2 separate regions of the Homo sapiens genome follow, and region 1 is linked to region 2. The links are contacts of gene promoters, found by promoter capture Hi-C in human tissues and cell types (Jung and others, 2019). All regions are on one chromosome and are shown on one strand. The core of a region is centred on a gene start or on the middle of the fragment in contact, and the rest is flanking DNA. Distances in the headings are between cores, read along the strand shown. Region 1 overlaps DCP1B (decapping mRNA 1B). Region 2 holds the start of TEAD4 (TEA domain transcription factor 4).

Region 1 (2,700 bases), core at 196-2,695, 1.0 Mb before region 2:
TAGTTTGTAGCTCATTTTCCAGTTGTTTAATTTTGTATGCTTTTCCCGACCTAAATATCTTTAAAATCCTGGGGGGAAAAACAGTTTTTGAAAAAGCATATAATGGATTCTTCACAGAGAACCTGAGGCATTTCTTTAAAACTTCAAAAACTTCCTCTGTTGGATGCTGAGGTTAAAATACAATAAAACCTCAAAAAGTATGTCATATAATCCAGTTTTAATCACACACAAACACATACATACATAAACATATGTATTTATGCCAAGAGAGATGTTTGAAACAAAATACAATAAAAGTATAAAAAGTTTCTATCTTCAGTTTATAGGATTATTGGTGATTTTTCTTTTTATATTCTTTTGAATTCTATCATTCAACAAAAAAATTTCTATAATTTCATAAATAACTCACAGCTATATCCAGAAAAGAGCCAATAATTCTTGTCTTAAACCACAAAACACAAATAGTCCACTTCTGAATACTCCAAGCTTAACTATGCAGCCTGTAGATCATTTCTGGTCCTGCCTCTTGTTCTTACTAAAATTTGGTTATTTTACTGTTCACTTGCATCTCAACTAGAAATTGAATAGGGCGGAGATAAAAAGAGATGAAATGCAAATTAACATCTTTTCTACTTTAAAGCAGATTCACAGAAAGTTATTTCTCAAAAGAGAATGCACAAAATTTCAGCCAAAATAAGTTTTCAAATTATTTTATTAACCTCCTGTAAACTAGACAGACTTCACTTTACCCATATCATATATACTGATAGCTCAACATTTTTCCTACTTCCACTTCTTGGGATGTTCACAAATTTAAGAATTCTAGAGAGACTTAAGCGTAAGGCCTGAGACTATAAACCTCCTGGAAGGAAACAGGGGAAAAGCTCCCCAACGTCGCTCTGGGCAGACTTTTTCTATAAACCTCCTGGAAGGAAACAGGGGAAAAGCTCCCCAACGTCGCTCTGGGCAATGGCTTTTTCTATGAACCTCCTGGAAGGAAACAGGGGAAAAGCTCCCTAACGTCGCTCTGGGCAATGACTTTTTCTATAAACCTCCTGGAAGGAAACAGGGGAAAAGCTCCCTAACGTTGCTCTGGGCAATGACTTTTTCTATAAACCTCCTGGAAGGAAACAGGGGAAAAGCTCCCCAACGTTGCTCTGGGTAATGACTTTTTCTATAAACCTACTGGAAGAAGACAGGGGAAAAGCTCCCTAACGTCGCTCTGGGCAATGGCTTCTTCTATAAACCTCCTGGAAGAAGACAGGGGAAAAGCTCCCTAACGTCGCTCTGGGCAATGGCTTTTTCTATAAACCTCCTGGAAGGAAACAGGGGAAAAGCTCCCTAACGTCGCTCTGGGCAATGGCTTTTTCTATAAACCTCCTGGAAGAAGACAGGGGAAAAGCTCCCTAACGTCGCTCTGCGCAATGGCTTTTTCTATAAACCTCCTGGAAGAAGACAGGGGAAAAGCTCCCTAACGTCGCTCTGGGCAATGACTTTTTCTATAAACCTCCTGGAAGGAGACAGGGGAAAAGCTCCCCAACGTCGCTCTGGGCAATGACTTTTTCCATAAACCTCCCGGAAGGAGACAGGGGAAAAGCTCCCCAACGTCGCTCTGGGCAATGACTTTTTCTATAAACCTCCCGGAAGGAAACAGGGGAAAAGCTCCCCAACGTCGCTCTGGGCAATGGCTTTTTCTATAAACCTCCTGGAAGGAAACAGGGGAAAAGCTCCCCAACGTCGCTTTGGGCAATGACTTTTTCTATAAACCTCCTGGAAGGAAACAGGGGAAAAGCTCCCCAACGTCGCTCTGGGCAATGACTTTTTCTATAAACCTCCTGGAAGGAAACAGGGGAAAAGCTCCCCAACGTCGCTCTGGGCAATGACTTTTTCTATAAACCTCCTGGAAGGAAACAGGGGGAAAGCTCCCCAACGTTGCTCTGGGCAATGACTTTTTCTATAAACCTCCTGGAAGGAAACAGGGGGAAAGCTCCCCAACGTCGCTCTGGGCAATGACTTTTTCTATAAACCTCCTGGAAGGAAACAGGGGAAAAGCTCCCTAACGTTGCTCTGGGCAATGGCTTTTTCGATGTGACCCTAAGGACAGGCAACAAAAGCAAGAGACACACAGGATTACATCCAACCCAAGGCTGTTGCATAGCAAAGGAAACAGCAGAGTGAAGAGATGACCTATGGAGTGGAGGAAGATACCTGCACAACATACATACGATAAGAGATTCATGTCCAAAGTAGATAAGGAACTCAAACAACTCAACAGTAAGAAAAGAAAACAAATGTTCTGATCAAAATATAGACAAAGGGCCTGAGTGGACATTTTTCAAAAGAAGACATACATGTGGCCAATAGGTATGTGAAAAATGCTCGACATCGCTAATCATCAGGGAAATGCAAATTAAAACCACAGTGAAATATCACCTCAAACCTGGTAGAATGTCTACCATCAAAAAGGCAAAACATAAGTGGTGGCAAGGATGTACAGAAAAGGAAATCCTTGTATACTGTTGGTGGGAATATTAGTTAGCATAGCTATTATGGAAAATAGCATGTTGGGCCAGGTGCAGTGGCTCACGCCTGTAATCCCAGCACTTTGTGAGGCTGAGGCGGGCGGATCACGAGGTCAGCAGATCGAGACCATCCTGGCTAACACGGTGAAACCCCGTCTCTACTAAAAATACAAAAAAA
Region 2 (2,700 bases), core at 41-2,540:
TCTTGGAAACAACTTTGGCATCGATAGCACTTTCCTTTCAATATCTTCCACGGTAGCAATTGTTTTTCATTTATGCAGCATTTATCATGCACTTCCCTATCCCAGGCACCAGGCTGGATCTGTGTGAAAGATAAGATAAATCAGACATTACTCTGTCTTCAAGGAAGTTTCTGTTTGGCAAGGGAGATAAGATCTAGACAACCACCCAACACAAGGCTAAGTGATAATGCCCCAGAAAAGGTTGGATTTGATTTTTGGAAAAAGCCAAAAGTCCTTTGGTTTCAGTCTCCTGGCCAGGTAGATGATGGCGCTACCTGCCAGCACACTGCTTTAAGCCCGTTTGTCCTAAGCGTCTCCAAACAAGGAGCCCAGCGTGTTTCCAGCACCTCCTGCCCCAATAAGAGACTCCTGGGCATGTGTGTCTGAAGTCCAGACTCTCACCGATGGCAGTATACACCGAGGCCTCCCCAGCTAAACTCTGAGCTCTTTGAGGGCAGGTGCTGACGGCTGATCCTGATCTTCACAGTATCTGGACTCATCACACATCTTAGATGAATATTCATTGAGTCACTGAGCCCAGAAGGCGTCCCATGGCATGCCACATGGACTTCAAACCGAGTGCCCTTTCTCCCATGTGGTTTACTCGTAGTGGCGGTTTTACAGATGCCCAAGGGGCAGGAGAGAAAAACGGAAAGAGCTAAAGCCGGGGAGGGCAAGCGAGGGGGCACTGGCAGCGGATCTGGGAATGGAGCCCGCGAGTTCCTGCTTCCTGGTTCCCCGGAGCAAGTGTCCTTTGGTGGGAGCCGCAGGAAGGGAGCAGCCCTTCCTGCGCGCCGGGAGCCCGCCCCTTCCCCGGCCTCCCAGGGACTCGTGCGGAGGGACGCCGGGTGGCGGGGCGGGAGTCTGGGCCCCGTCCACCCCCCCGCCCCCGGGACAGCCCCACCCCGGCGAAGAGGAAGGCTCTCGGCTCCTGGGAAAGGGAGTCGGGACCCCGCCAGGAGGGGAGGGCGCGGGGCGCGCAACGAGCAGCCAAACAGTCGGAGCGGAGAGATCGAAGGGCTAGTGGGCGTGGGGGCCGCAGCCGAGGCCCGGGTGGAGGGGTCCCCGCCGTCCCTCGGCCCCCTCCCCCGCCGCCCGCCCCGGCCCGGCCCGGCCCCGCCCCGCCCCGGCGGCCCGGCCCCTCGCCCGCCCGCGCGCGGCGCAGTCTCCTCCCCGAGGTGCCGGTGGCCCCGCCGCCACTCCCTCCGGCTCCCTCCCTCCCGCCGCGGCGCGCATCTCATTCCAGCCCTCATTCCGCGCATTCCAGCGTCCTCCTCGCACACTCGAGGCCAGGGGGCGGGAGGGCCGCAGCTCCGGCGCCGCCGCGTCCCGCCAGGTGAGAGGCGCCCGCGCCCGCCGCACCCGCCGGCGCCCTCACGGGCCGCGCGCCCCACGCCGCCGCAGCCGACCGCTCGCGCCGCGTGCTCGGCTGCTCTTTTCTTTCCGCCGCCCGCGTTCCCGCCTTGGACCTCTGCGCTCCGACGCGCTCCGTCCCGACCTCTGGCTTCCCTCCGCGCTCCGGCGCTGCTCGCTGCCCCTCTCCCGCTTCCCTCCTGTCCGCCCCGCGCTCCCCTCCTCGCTCCCGGTTGACTCACTCCTCCAGGAATAGGGATCCCCGTGTTTTCCCGTCAGTCCCATTCTGGGAAAACTCCTCCCTCCGCGCGCTCCGCTCCGCTCCGCTGGGCGCACCGGGGCCGGTCGGCGCGGGGTGGGCTTGGCCCCGCGGCCCCGCCTTCACTGCGCCGCCCGTCGGCCCCGGCCGGAGCCCGGCTCTGCGCGCTGACGCCCTGTCGTCCCCGCAGAACGATCGCCGCGGCCGGAAGAGTTGGCGCTCGGGGCGGACTCCTTGGAACTGGCTTAGCGCACCCATCCCACCTTCCCGCACCCTGGGACCGGTAAGGCTGGGGCGCGGGGACTTGGTAGGACTTTGCCGGAGGGCAGGAGTCTGCGCGGTGCGTGCGGAGCTCCCTCCCGGGACGAGACTGGGAAGAGCGAGGCACGTGGAGGCGGCGCGACTGAGGCTGCTGGAGGCGAAGCGGCTCCAGGGGCGGGTAAGGGGGGTGGACACTCGGGACTTTGGGGGAAAGGGAGGCCGGTGTGGAAAGGACCGGAGAGGCAGAACCGAGAGCATCGGCAACAGAAGAGACCCAGCACCCATGCCTCTTTTCTGCTGGGCCCTTTTCGAGCCTGGAAGGGAGAGACCTGGAGGTAAGCGGACTGCCTGTTTTAAGTGCAAAGGCGATGCGAAAGTCGGGGGACCCCTGCAAAAGGTCCTACACCTCAGGGCTTGGGAAGCTGCTGTGTTTCCTGATGGGGACTAGTGGATCGATCCAGGGAGCAGAACTTTCAAACCCCAAAGTGAACATTTCCCCCGTTGTGCTGAGGCACTTGAGGCCCCGCGGACTGACTGCGTCTGTGCTGAGTCTGTGTGACACCTGACTGCGAGTCCCCCTCGCTTTGAGTCTCTGTGTGGGTGATGTCTGTTCACGTGTGGCTCACCTTGGCTTCCAGTGGGCGTATTTGTTTGTGTTGAACGTGAGTGACAGAGTGTGTGTATATGTCTGCGTGAGAAGGGGCTGTCTGAAAGTGAGTATCTCTGAGTAGGTGTGTGATGCCACGTCTCTTGAGTATGTGTTTCTCTTCGAGGATGTTGGTTCTGGC

What was found. The method cuts DNA at HindIII sites, captures the fragments that hold promoters and counts their contacts. A contact is called where the count stands out against the background at its distance.
Region 1: a contact is called between a fragment that was not itself captured here and the fragment with the promoter of TEAD4 in region 2, in 1 of the 25 tissues and cell types used here (dorsolateral prefrontal cortex).

The regions. Positions count from the first base shown.
Region 1 is chr12:1,957,111-1,959,810 of GRCh38, forward strand. All of the region lies in intron 5 of DCP1B (decapping mRNA 1B), which reads right to left. Among named protein-coding and RNA genes, the nearest start is that of LINC00940, 22 kb to the left of the region's middle. The HindIII fragment of the contact is 3,913 bases long and covers 1-2,700 here.
Region 2 is chr12:2,958,107-2,960,806 of GRCh38, forward strand. It overlaps TEAD4 (TEA domain transcription factor 4), which reads left to right and starts at 1,291. Exons shown (of 13, transcript NM_003213.4): 1 at 1,291-1,375; 2 at 1,842-1,934. LOC124902859 (a long non-coding RNA gene) reads right to left here and starts at 1,942. Exons shown (of 2, transcript XR_007063159.1): 1 at 1,635-1,942; 2 at 1-119. RefSeq lists an enhancer at 1,461-2,196. The HindIII fragment of the contact is 29,957 bases long and covers 1-2,700 here.